Regions from separate parts of the Homo sapiens genome. Here region 1 is linked to region 2. The links are contacts of gene promoters, found by promoter capture Hi-C in human tissues and cell types (Jung and others, 2019). All regions are on one chromosome and are shown on one strand. The core of a region is centred on a gene start or on the middle of the fragment in contact, and the rest is flanking DNA. Distances in the headings are between cores, read along the strand shown.

What was found. The method cuts DNA at HindIII sites, captures the fragments that hold promoters and counts their contacts. A contact is called where the count stands out against the background at its distance.
Region 1: a fragment that was not itself captured here is called in contact with the fragment with the promoter of CYP2D6 in region 2 in 5 of the 25 tissues and cell types used here (IMR-90 fibroblasts, dorsolateral prefrontal cortex, hippocampus and 2 more).

Annotation. Positions count from the first base shown.
Region 1 is chr22:42,253,980-42,256,689 of GRCh38, reverse strand. The region is part of intron 1 of TCF20 (transcription factor 20); the gene reads left to right. Among named protein-coding and RNA genes, the nearest start is that of TCF20, 15 kb to the left of the region's middle. The HindIII fragment of the contact is 7,259 bases long and covers 1-2,710 here.
Region 2 is chr22:42,129,560-42,132,259 of GRCh38, reverse strand. CYP2D6 (cytochrome P450 family 2 subfamily D member 6 (gene/pseudogene)) reads left to right here and starts at 1,450. Exons shown (of 9, transcript NM_000106.6): 1 at 1,450-1,648; 2 at 2,351-2,522. The coding sequence starts at 1,469. RefSeq lists a cis regulatory region at 154-165 and promoters at 1-1,391, 978-1,444. The HindIII fragment of the contact is 22,528 bases long and covers 1-2,700 here.

The DNA.
Region 1 (2,710 bases), core at 152-2,651, 120 kb before region 2:
TTGAACTTAATGCTACTTTTTTGTTTTTTGTTTTTTGTTTTTCTAGTAGATGTGAGTTTAAATATAGCAGGAATAGGATTTTCATCTTCTCTTGTTGAAAGTCTTCGTGGAAGTGGATTTAAGTTCTAGCATATTCAGTAGGAGAAATTTGAGCTGGAATGAAGGACATCACAGCCTGCATAATTTGTTAAATGTCTCTTTAAAAAAAAAAAAAAAACTTTGCTACATTGGCTAGCGCATGTGCTGAAAGTTGGCTTCCCCTAAAGATAAGGGACACAGGCCAAATGAAGCCTATGGGAATGAAACACATCAGAGAAAATAAAAGAAAAAAGAAAATTTCTGTTCAGCCAAGTTTGCTAAGTAGTTGCCATGCTAGGCACACACACACAAAAATCAAATAAAACACTTCACTTTTCCTTAGAGTTCAGGGTCTGTGGGAGAGTCCAATATGGAAAATTAACATTTATCAAACGTATGAATGATTGATAAGGCTGTAATAGTGGTGTAGCTGGAGTGCTGGGGAGAACTAGGCAAGAGGCTGCTCCCTCCTGATCAAGTATGGGAAGAATATTGGAGAAGCCGGTAGAGGAGGGAGCATTTGGGTAGACCTTGAAGGATGGACGAGAGAGAGAGACAAGTGGAAGAGTGGAGAAAGAGCATTCCTAAGAGAGGTCTTTTGGGAACCAAGGCTCAAAAGTATGTAGCATATTATCAATCAAACCCTGGGCCCTTAGGCTAAGGGCCTAGAGATGACAGAGGGGAAGGTCAGAAGGGAGCGTGGGCCTAATAGTATGAGAGCAAGGTGGGAATAGCTTTGAACCTGGGGCTGGGGCACTTGAGTCTCATAAATGGAACAAAGTTTTGTGAAGAGAGGTGTGAATACATGGTTGGGGGCGTTGTTCTGACTGAGGAGAGATGGTGGTGGGAAGGAGAGGGGAGGGCCGGAAACAGATGATGAATTGATCATCTTGGCCTCTTACTGTTCTGATTTTCTCATGCCCAAAGCCCTAGTCTGCATAAGAAGGATCTGTAAAATTTAGCAATTGGTTTAAATAAAATGGATTTACAGGAAATTTTGGCATCAACCCATGTTGATTCCAAAACAGGTCGGCAAGCATATTTTATTTACCCAAACATTTATAACAATAAATAATGTGGTTTTGTTGTTGTTGTTGTTGTTGTTGTTGTTGTTGTTGTTGTTTGAGATGAAGTCTCACTCTGTTGCCAGGTTGGAGTGCAGTGGCGCGATCTCAGCTCATGGCAGTCTCCTCCTCCCGGGTTCAAGTGATGCCCCTGCCTTAGCCTCCCAACTAGCTGGGACTACAGGCACGCACCACCAAGCCCGGCTACTTTTTTTTGGTATTTTTAGTAGAGACGGGGTTTTACCATGTTGGTCAAGATGGTCTCGATTTCCTGACCTCGTGATCCGCCCGCCTTGGCCTCCCAAAGTGCTGGGATTACAGGCATGAGCACCATGCCCAGCCAACATTGTGAATATTTTTATATAAACAATAAATTCCAAGGGCCAGGACTTGTTCTAAACATTTGACAAAAAAGTTAGGAGATAGTGTTATTACCTCTGTTTTTCAAACGAGAAAACTGAATAACGGAGGTTGAGTGACTTGCCCAAGGTCACCCAACTATTAAGTAGCAGAGCCAGGATTGGGAATTGGGAAAAACTCTCACCTCTAATCATGTTTTTCCTCTACCTTTTTTTTTTTTTTTTTTTTGAGACGGAGTCTTGCTGTGTCACCCAGGCTGGAGTGCAGTGGTGCCATCTCTTCTCAAGCTCTGCCTCCCAGGTTCACGCCATTCTCCTGCCTCAGCCTCCAGAGTATTTGGGACTACAGGCGCCCGCCTCCACCCGCGGCTAATTTTTGTATTTTTAGTAGAGACGGGGTTTCACTGTGTTGGTGAAGATATTCTCGATCTGCTGACCCTGTGATCTGCCTGTCACGGCCTCTCAAAGTGCTGGGACCAGCTCCTTTTGGATTTTTATGGAAGTTTCCTGATGTCAATTTCTTCTCCCAGGGTATAGGGCTGGACGCCCTCTGAGGAGGGTCTTAAGAGCCACAGTCTGAGAGGTGGGAAAGGATTAGAGTCCTGCCTTAGGGCAGGTGAATGGAGGACAGGTGAGAGATTGTTTCCCCAGGCCTTAACATACCCAATATTATAACAAAACACTGTTACAAGGGCTGGACAATACCCAGTATATATCATGATACCACAGGCACCCTGGCTCTGGACTCTGTGCCCTTAACCTGTACCCTGTGTGAATGTTTAATTTAAATGAGCTGGAATATAACTTGCAGGATAAGTTTGTGGCCATTTGAAGAGGAAGAGTTTAGTTTTGGATTATAGAAACAAAGAAAAAGAAAGTGGAGTGGAGCTGGGAAGTACCATCCTGGGATCTACCTGGGAGAATAGTCTGCTGTGTGAGGGCAAGGACTTGTCTGTTGCCCATCATATTCCCAGCATCTAGAACAGTGCTTGATATGTAGCTAATGCTTAGCAGATATTTTTGAGTGAATCAGTAAATAAAATTTCGCTGCCAGCTCTCAAAGGAATATGCTGTGGAAGCTTCAGTTACTTTTTTTTTTTTTTTTTTTTTTTGAAAGGGAGTTTTGCTCTTGTTGCCCAGGCTGGAGTGCAATGGCACGATCTCAGCTCACCGCAACCTCCGCCTCCCGGGTTCAAGCGATTTTCCTGC
Region 2 (2,700 bases), core at 201-2,700:
TAGCCTGGCCAACATGGTGAAACCCTATCTCTACTGAAAATACAAAAAGCTAGACGTGGTGGCACACACCTGTAATCCCAGCTACTTAGGAGGCTGAGGCAGGAGAATTGCTTGAAGCCTAGAGGTGAAGGTTGTAGTGAGCCGAGATTGCATCATTGCACAATGGAGGGGAGCCACCAGCCTGGGCAACAAGAGGAAATCTCCGTCTCCAAAAAAAAAAAAAAAAAAAAAAGAATTAGGCTGGGTGGTGCCTGTAGTCCCAGCTACTTGGGAGGCAGGGGGTCCACTTGATGTCGAGACTGCAGTGAGCCATGATCCTGCCACTGCACTCCGGCCTGGGCAACAGAGTGAGACCCTGTCTAAAGAAAAAAAAAATAAAGCAACATATCCTGAACAAAGGATCCTCCATAACGTTCCCACCAGATTTCTAATCAGAAACATGGAGGCCAGAAAGCAGTGGAGGAGGACGACCCTCAGGCAGCCCGGGAGGATGTTGTCACAGGCTGGGGCAAGGGCCTTCCGGCTACCAACTGGGAGCTCTGGGAACAGCCCTGTTGCAAACAAGAAGCCATAGCCCGGCCAGAGCCCAGGAATGTGGGCTGGGCTGGGAGCAGCCTCTGGACAGGAGTGGTCCCATCCAGGAAACCTCCGGCATGGCTGGGAAGTGGGGTACTTGGTGCCGGGTCTGTATGTGTGTGTGACTGGTGTGTGTGAGAGAGAATGTGTGCCCTAAGTGTCAGTGTGAGTCTGTGTATGTGTGAATATTGTCTTTGTGTGGGTGATTTTCTGCGTGTGTAATCGTGTCCCTGCAAGTGTGAACAAGTGGACAAGTGTCTGGGAGTGGACAAGAGATCTGTGCACCATCAGGTGTGTGCATAGCGTCTGTGCATGTCAAGAGTGCAAGGTGAAGTGAAGGGACCAGGCCCATGATGCCACTCATCATCAGGAGCTCTAAGGCCCCAGGTAAGTGCCAGTGACAGATAAGGGTGCTGAAGGTCACTCTGGAGTGGGCAGGTGGGGGTAGGGAAAGGGCAAGGCCATGTTCTGGAGGAGGGGTTGTGACTACATTAGGGTGTATGAGCCTAGCTGGGAGGTGGATGGCCGGGTCCACTGAAACCCTGGTTATCCCAGAAGGCTTTGCAGGCTTCAGGAGCTTGGAGTGGGGAGAGGGGGTGACTTCTCCGACCAGGCCCCTCCACCGGCCTACCCTGGGTAAGGGCCTGGAGCAGGAAGCAGGGGCAAGAACCTCTGGAGCAGCCCATACCCGCCCTGGCCTGACTCTGCCACTGGCAGCACAGTCAACACAGCAGGTTCACTCACAGCAGAGGGCAAAGGCCATCATCAGCTCCCTTTATAAGGGAAGGGTCACGCGCTCGGTGTGCTGAGAGTGTCCTGCCTGGTCCTCTGTGCCTGGTGGGGTGGGGGTGCCAGGTGTGTCCAGAGGAGCCCATTTGGTAGTGAGGCAGGTATGGGGCTAGAAGCACTGGTGCCCCTGGCCGTGATAGTGGCCATCTTCCTGCTCCTGGTGGACCTGATGCACCGGCGCCAACGCTGGGCTGCACGCTACCCACCAGGCCCCCTGCCACTGCCCGGGCTGGGCAACCTGCTGCATGTGGACTTCCAGAACACACCATACTGCTTCGACCAGGTGAGGGAGGAGGTCCTGGAGGGCGGCAGAGGTGCTGAGGCTCCCCTACCAGAAGCAAACATGGATGGTGGGTGAAACCACAGGCTGGACCAGAAGCCAGGCTGAGAAGGGGAAGCAGGTTTGGGGGACGTCCTGGAGAAGGGCATTTATACATGGCATGAAGGACTGGATTTTCCAAAGGCCAAGGAAGAGTAGGGCAAGGGCCTGGAGGTGGAGCTGGACTTGGCAGTGGGCATGCAAGCCCATTGGGCAACATATGTTATGGAGTACAAAGTCCCTTCTGCTGACACCAGAAGGAAAGGCCTTGGGAATGGAAGATGAGTTAGTCCTGAGTGCCGTTTAAATCACGAAATCGAGGATGAAGGGGGTGCAGTGACCCGGTTCAAACCTTTTGCACTGTGGGTCCTCGGGCCTCACTGCTCACCGGCATGGACCATCATCTGGGAATGGGATGCTAACTGGGGCCTCTCGGCAATTTTGGTGACTCTTGCAAGGTCATACCTGGGTGACGCATCCAAACTGAGTTCCTCCATCACAGAAGGTGTGACCCCCACCCCCGCCCCACGATCAGGAGGCTGGGTCTCCTCCTTCCACCTGCTCACTCCTGGTAGCCCCGGGGGTCGTCCAAGGTTCAAATAGGACTAGGACCTGTAGTCTGGGGTGATCCTGGCTTGACAAGAGGCCCTGACCCTCCCTCTGCAGTTGCGGCGCCGCTTCGGGGACGTGTTCAGCCTGCAGCTGGCCTGGACGCCGGTGGTCGTGCTCAATGGGCTGGCGGCCGTGCGCGAGGCGCTGGTGACCCACGGCGAGGACACCGCCGACCGCCCGCCTGTGCCCATCACCCAGATCCTGGGTTTCGGGCCGCGTTCCCAAGGCAAGCAGCGGTGGGGACAGAGACAGATTTCCGTGGGACCCGGGTGGGTGATGACCGTAGTCCGAGCTGGGCAGAGAGGGCGCGGGGTCGTGGACATGAAACAGGCCAGCGAGTGGGGACAGCGGGCCAAGAAACCACCTGCACTAGGGAGGTGTGAGCATGGGGACGAGGGCGGGGC